Regions from separate parts of the Homo sapiens genome. Here region 1 is linked to region 2. Evidence: promoter capture Hi-C in 16 types of primary human blood cells and fetal thymus (Javierre and others, 2016). All regions are on one chromosome and are shown on one strand. The core of a region is centred on a gene start or on the middle of the fragment in contact, and the rest is flanking DNA. Distances in the headings are between cores, read along the strand shown.

What was found. The method cuts DNA at HindIII sites, captures the fragments that hold promoters and counts their contacts. A CHiCAGO score of 5 or more calls a contact.
Region 1: a contact is called between a fragment that was not itself captured here and the fragment with the promoter of STRADA in region 2, in 1 of 17 cell types (monocytes). The highest score is 6.8, in monocytes.

Annotation. Positions count from the first base shown.
Region 1 is chr17:64,511,879-64,515,230 of GRCh38, reverse strand. CEP95 (centrosomal protein 95) reads right to left here. Exons shown (of 20, transcript NM_138363.3): 4 at 873-983. Among named protein-coding and RNA genes, the nearest start is that of CEP95, 6.6 kb to the right of the region's middle. The HindIII fragment of the contact is 1,475 bases long and covers 1,220-2,694 here.
Region 2 is chr17:63,740,164-63,743,240 of GRCh38, reverse strand. It overlaps STRADA (STE20 related adaptor alpha), which reads left to right and starts at 1,442. Exons shown (of 13, transcript NM_001003787.4): 1 at 1,442-1,500. RefSeq lists silencers at 1,160-1,279, 2,783-2,951 and an enhancer at 2,817-3,077. The HindIII fragment of the contact is 6,891 bases long and covers 1-3,077 here.

The DNA.
Region 1 (3,352 bases), core at 708-3,207, 770 kb before region 2:
GTTTGAGAGTATCAACATGACAAGCAGCTTGGAATCCTCCCAGAGTACCCAGACGCCTATAAAACACTCAATTTTTGAAACAAAGAAATGTCCAGTGTGGCAGACTTTTCAATTTTCCCTCCCAGTTTTTAAACAGTTTAGTAACAATGATTAAAGGTAGGAAACTATCTCTAACTAAAGACTTTAAGATTAATTTCAAATGTGACTATCACAGGTCTCACTATAAACAAAGTGAGAATGGAGGATGAGCCTACCCCAATTTTTTGTCTTAATTTGTATTCGAATTTATGTAAATTGTGGTTGCTGCTGAAAGTTTATTTTTGATAACTTTTCAACATAAGAACAGGTAATATATTATTCCATTCGTGACCAACAGCATTATTTACTTAATCTCAAATTATTAAGACAGTTAAGTTCTTTCACTTTTTGCAATGACAAATATCTGAAATATTTAGGCTGTCACAAATGTAAGTGCAGGCTAAAGACACAAATGCACCAATTCTTCCTGTTGATGCCTCAGTAACATCCAAATATTTACCATAAATAGCAGTTCTGACACACGAAATTTTGGAGAAAGAAATTTTATGCAATCATAGGACAATAAATAATTTAGCCAGAAATTTATCTTTCTAGTATAAATTAGTTTTGAAGTAATTTATGAGCAACATCCAAGTTGATAAAGAACATGATGACAGTCTAAGACAGTTTCCAACCAGCTGGAACAATAAGAATTTGAAATTTACAACTACGGTTATCAGGTATACTGTATTAGTGAATCTGCTTCCTATGAAGAAAAATACACAAAAAGATAAAAGGCAAAAGGGACACATCATAAAAGGTAAACCAAACCAAATTTCCATTCTTAAACTTACTTTTCTCATGAGATGTTTCACTGATGCGTTCTGTAAGATACTCCAACAAACCATCAAATATTTCCAGGAGATTCTTAATAGATTCTTTATCTCCTTTCACTATATTTTCTCCTGGAGACAGAATATAGAGCTATTAAAAAATTTAACCATGAAATCTGAAAGCTTCATAATCTTGAAACTTGGATATAACATTGTGAAAATGCTATTTAAGAATACAGGCGATACATACCAACTTACAGCTCCTTGGAGATTAAATAAAAAAAAGAATACAGGTGAAACAATTATAAATATTAAGAACAACAATTTCCTGCTGCCTGATTATATTTGAAGAAAAAAAGGGGGAAGCTTTAAATATGGCGTCTAATAATTCACTGGCATATTCCTTCCTTTTTTGGAGAAGCAAAATAATTGGACTTAAGAAAACATGTCTAGTAAGATTTATACCAAAATATATTGCAGCTAAACAGAACTTTACCAGATTGGTGGGAAAAAGTGGCAGGAGAGAACACTTTCAGATTGTGGTATCCTATTCTAAATGGTGGTTTGTTCAGAAGATTATAGCAGCAGAGTAACATCAAAACAACAAAAAAAAACAATAAACTTGTTGGGATACTTTCATCAGAAATTCCTGAATTCTCCACCATAACCCCCCATATTTGTTAACTCCTCATTTTGTATAGATCATACCATTTTTCTGATTAAAATCCTTTCCCTGGCTCCCTTTCTGAAATATAAGCCCTGCATATAAAACCTTTTTAAATCTCACTCCATCTTCAGCGTCTCCAGCTACATCTCTTACCATATCCACTTCATATTCATAACTTACACTCATAGATCATAGCACAGTCCCTAGCACAGTACCTACTCCGTAACAGATTTTTAATATAAATGATTAGGTTGAAATGTTGAATAGAAATGGGTTGGCAAAAAGCATGGAAACTTGACATATTTAATGTCACCTGAAATGGACTCCAAATCAACCTCAGGTATAGATAGTACTTAACCCTTGTGACACTCTGATTGTCCTTTGGGAGATCATGCCTGGCATTCTCATGAGTTCACACCAATATGGGAAAAGCAGTGTAGAAATTTGACATTTGGGAGAATCTAGCCATTCGTAACCTCAGCCATGATGCAAAACAAACCTAAACCAGAAATTTGACGTTTTATACTACTACTAGTAACGACAACGTTTGAGTTTTTTCGTTTAAAACAATGAACCAGAAATCTTGGTTTTGGACGTGTTTTTCCGGCTTAAAAATACCTAAGTATATCCCAAGAGCATCCTCAAAACTTTTCAGTTTCTAGGATGGGGAGTATACTGACAACCTAGCAACTAAGACTGCCAGCCAGAATGCAGTGCTTCATGCTGCAGGAGAAACTGTTTTACAATTTTTCATAGGGTGGGTGTAATCTGTCAAAGACAGCTCTGCATTAAAGAGTTTTACAAACATGTATGTTTATAACCCTGCTATAGTATGTTTAACAAGCACAAATACCAGAACTTGTCCTACTTGGGTGATAAAGCAATTACAAATTGCAAAAAAAAGAGGGAAACTATGGGAGTAGCCCTCAAATTATCTCCGAACTGATTTACCCATTCACTCACCTAGAACTGCATTAAAAAACTTAAGACAGAAGAGTATTTTATTCTCTTCGCAAAAATTTGTTCTTGTCAGTATCAAATTAAGAGATGTAAATCAGGACTTATCCTGATTAACATTTATCTCCTTTTACAACTATCAAAGAATAAATCAACAGTATAAATCCTCTTTTTGTGATTATAGTTTCACATTGTCAATATTCCCTCTATTCATAAGCTTGAAATAACTTACTGGAATAATCATTCATTTCTAAACATAAATGAAATACACATAATACAGTGATTTATAAATATATTTGGTATGCTTAGTTTTAGAATACAGTATAGTATACTTTATTTTGGAGATTTAATTACAGAAAAAAACTTCTGAATAGATAACATGGTTCAAAATTCAGCAAGTGCAAAAAGTATACACTGAAAGTTCTTGTCCCTTTGTCCTGCAACCCTGAGGTTCCCTTTGTTGGAAGCAATCAGTATTACGAGTTTCTTGTATATGCTTCTAGAGAGTTCTTCCGATTGCAAACAACTGCAAATACTTCTGCACACCTTTGTTTTTACAAACACTAGCATACTACTCTGCACATTACCATTATAATTGTACTACATTTTTCTCGCATCACATATGCTAGAGATTGTTCCCAACACGGAACATTGTGCACAAAGAGCATATTCAGTCATCTTTTACAGCCACAGAGCAGTCCACTGTATGCAGCTATCATGATTTATCTAACCAATCCCTACTAATGGACATTTAGGTGTTTCTAATTTTTAGCTATCACAAACAAGTAGCATTAGTATGCTTTAAAATAAAACAATACGGCCAGGTGTTGCGAGAAGTCAGGGACCCCAAACAGAGGGACCGGCTGAAGCCATGGCA
Region 2 (3,077 bases), core at 193-2,692:
CCAATATGGTGAAACCTCGTCTCTACTAAAAATACAAAAATCAGCCAGGCGTTGTGGCGTGCGCCTGTAGTCCCAGCGACTTGGGAGGCTGAGTCAGGAGAATTGCTTGAGCCCAGGAGGCAGAGGTTGCAGTGAGCCCAGATCACGTCACTGCATTCCAGCCTGGGCAACAGAGCAAGACTCCATCTCAAAAAAAAAAAAAAAAAAAATCAAAGTGATGTATGTAAGATCAAATGAGAACTCATGTGCATACAGGTCCCACAGTTTCAGGGGCATATTTCTTTTTTTCTTTTTTTTTTTTTTTTTTTTTGAGACGGAGTCTCGCTCTGTCGCCCAGGCTGGAAGTGCAGTGACGCGATCTCTGCACACTGCAAGCTCCGCCTCCCGGGTTCAGGCCATTCTGCTGCCTCAGCCTCCATAGTAGCTGGGATTACGGGCGCCTGTCACCACGCCCGGCTAATTTTTTTGTACTTTTAGTAGAGACGGGGTTTCGCCGTATTAACCAGGATGGTCTCGATCTCCTGACCTAGTGAACCACCCGCGTCGGCCTCCCAAAGTGCTGGGATTACAGGCGTGAGCCACCGCGCCCGGCCTTCCAGGGGCATATTTCTATAAGTCCCTACTTGGATGTAGCTAAACTCCTCCCCCAGTCTTGGAAGTTAGGACGGTCTAAATCTGTGTCAAAGCTCAGAGCTGGCAAGAGCGAGTGTTCATTACCTGATGGTATATATCCGCGTTTTGGATACCCCCTCCTGCGCACGCGGGGGATAAGTCACTGAAAAACCTAGTCTCACAGGAGTGAGGCTTAGTTCATCGCTTCCTCATTTCTCAAGCTCTGCATAACCTGGCTTGGACAAACCTGATAGGTTTCCACAAACGGCTTCAGCTGTGGATGAGGAAGGCTTCGGGGGAAAAAAAAAGATACTGAGGGGACAAGATCGTTTTCATTAGTTGAGCTATTTTCCTTGTTTTACAAATAGTGGGGAGCAAAGAAAGGATGGGCTTCCCCTTTGCAGCTTGTTGTCTGGTGCCCGAGAGGCCAAAGTGAGGGGCATTTGAGATGTCGTCCAAGAAAAGTGCGAGGCGGGTTTTCCATTAGAAGTCCTACCACATGAAATGAGAAAAACACAATTCTCAGGAACAGCCAAGTTTGCCTTTCTCTGGTCCTTCATTGTTGAAGCCACCTGCTTCCCCCTCCTGCTGCGGGGGCGGAGGCTGTAGGCGGAAGCGCTGCGCGGCGGGAAAGACAACGGGAACTGAGAACCGCTCTCGGCGCGGCGGCGGCTGCTAGGGCCTGCCGCAGCCGCGGCCACTCGGAAAGGGCGGGACTTCCCCGCAGGGCGGGGTGGGGCGGAGCGCTCTATCAGTCCTCCCGGTCGCCCCACTGCGCATGGCACGTTGCGTACTCCCCTCCCAGCAACCGGTCTGGCGGCGGCGCGGCAGTAAAACTGAGGAGGCGGAGCCAAGACGGTCGGGGCTGCTTGCTAACTCCAGGAACAGGTACCTGCCTGGCGGGGTGCCTGGTACGCTGCCGGGGCCAGTCCCTCCTGGCTCTGCCACCGATTCCATCTCCCCAGGCCCGGGCCTTCGTCGGAGCGGCCATCCTGGGCTCACCTCACCCTCCACGGGCCCCCTTTTTAACCCGCGTCCTCGACTCCCGCAATGAGGCGCCGCAGCCCGAGAGCAGAATAGGCTTGGGCCTGGCGGGGAGACGCTGAAGCGGAGTTGCCGGGCGAGAGAGGCGGGCTCCTGCTTTCCCCTTCCTCCCCACCCCCTAGGACTTCCAGGTGGGGAACCTAGGGCTGGGTGCCGGTTTGTCCTGTTCAGGCAGAGTGGCGGCCGACCCCGGTCCTGGGCTCCCCGCTGTCCCCAGCCGCCGCGCACTTTGGGCTGACAGGCAGCGGGTCAAGTCCTCGTAAGGACACAAGATCCAGATGACTCCCAGAATCGGCCTAAACGAAGAGCTCATTGTCTTTTTGTTTTCCAGAAATGTTTTTTGGGTGCCTGCAGGGGATTTGGGCGCCGGAGATGGGGGTTGGGGATAAGGAAGAGAGCTCGAGGGAGGGGCAGTGGGTAGGTAAAATTGTTCATAGTTCTCAGGAAATAGGGAACTAACCTCTCTGCCCAGCCTTCTCCTGTATCCTAACATACTTTAACTTGACTTTCCCGGAGAAAGAGCCGTTGGAATTTGCCCTTTTCTTATTGTAATATCTGTTCAAGTAGAAGCATGTTCCAATACGTATATGCGACGTTAAGACAATTCTTCATTGACACTCATACCTTCCTGAAGACACCCAGGACTGTTTCTTGTCCCTGAGAGTTAAGGAAGAAACCAAATTTGATCACCTGCCAAAAGCCTGTGAATTCAGCCTTTAGTTACAGTGCTGAACTGGTCAAATCTGTCCCCTACTTTTTAATCAGATTTCTTAGAGGTGTTTTGGCTGGAATGCAGTGTTTATAGTTGTGGCCCCAGAAATGGAGGAAGTTTACTCTGGTTTTTAGAGCGCAGGCTTTGGAACAGATTTAATTAGTCCCCTACCACTTATCTGTGTGACTTTGGGCATTTAACCTCCCTGCACACCTGAATTTCCTGATCCGTAAAACAGAGATGATAATACTTGTGAGCTGCTCATGAAGCATTTAGCACAGTGCCTGACACGTAGGAAGTTTGCCATAAATGTTTGCTGGGTTTATTATTTTCTCTCTTTATTTTTATTTTAATTTTTTTGAGATGGAGTTTCGCCCTCGTCCCCCAGGCTGGAATGCAATGGCGCGATCTCCGCTCACTGCAACCTCGGCCTCCTTGGTACAAGCAGTTATCCTGCCTCAGCCTTCCGAGTAGCTGGCATTACAGGCACCCCCCACCACACCTGGTTAATTTTTGTATTTTCAGTAGAGACGGGGTTTCACCATGTTGGTCAGGCCGATCTCTGAGGTCCTGACCTCAGGTGATCCACCAGCCTCGACCTCCCAAAGTGCTGGGATTACAGGCGTGAGCCACCGCGCCCGGCCAATAAAGCTATTTCTATGTCTGTCCACTAGTAATATTGCTTTGTTGTGTGTGTGTGTGTGTGTGT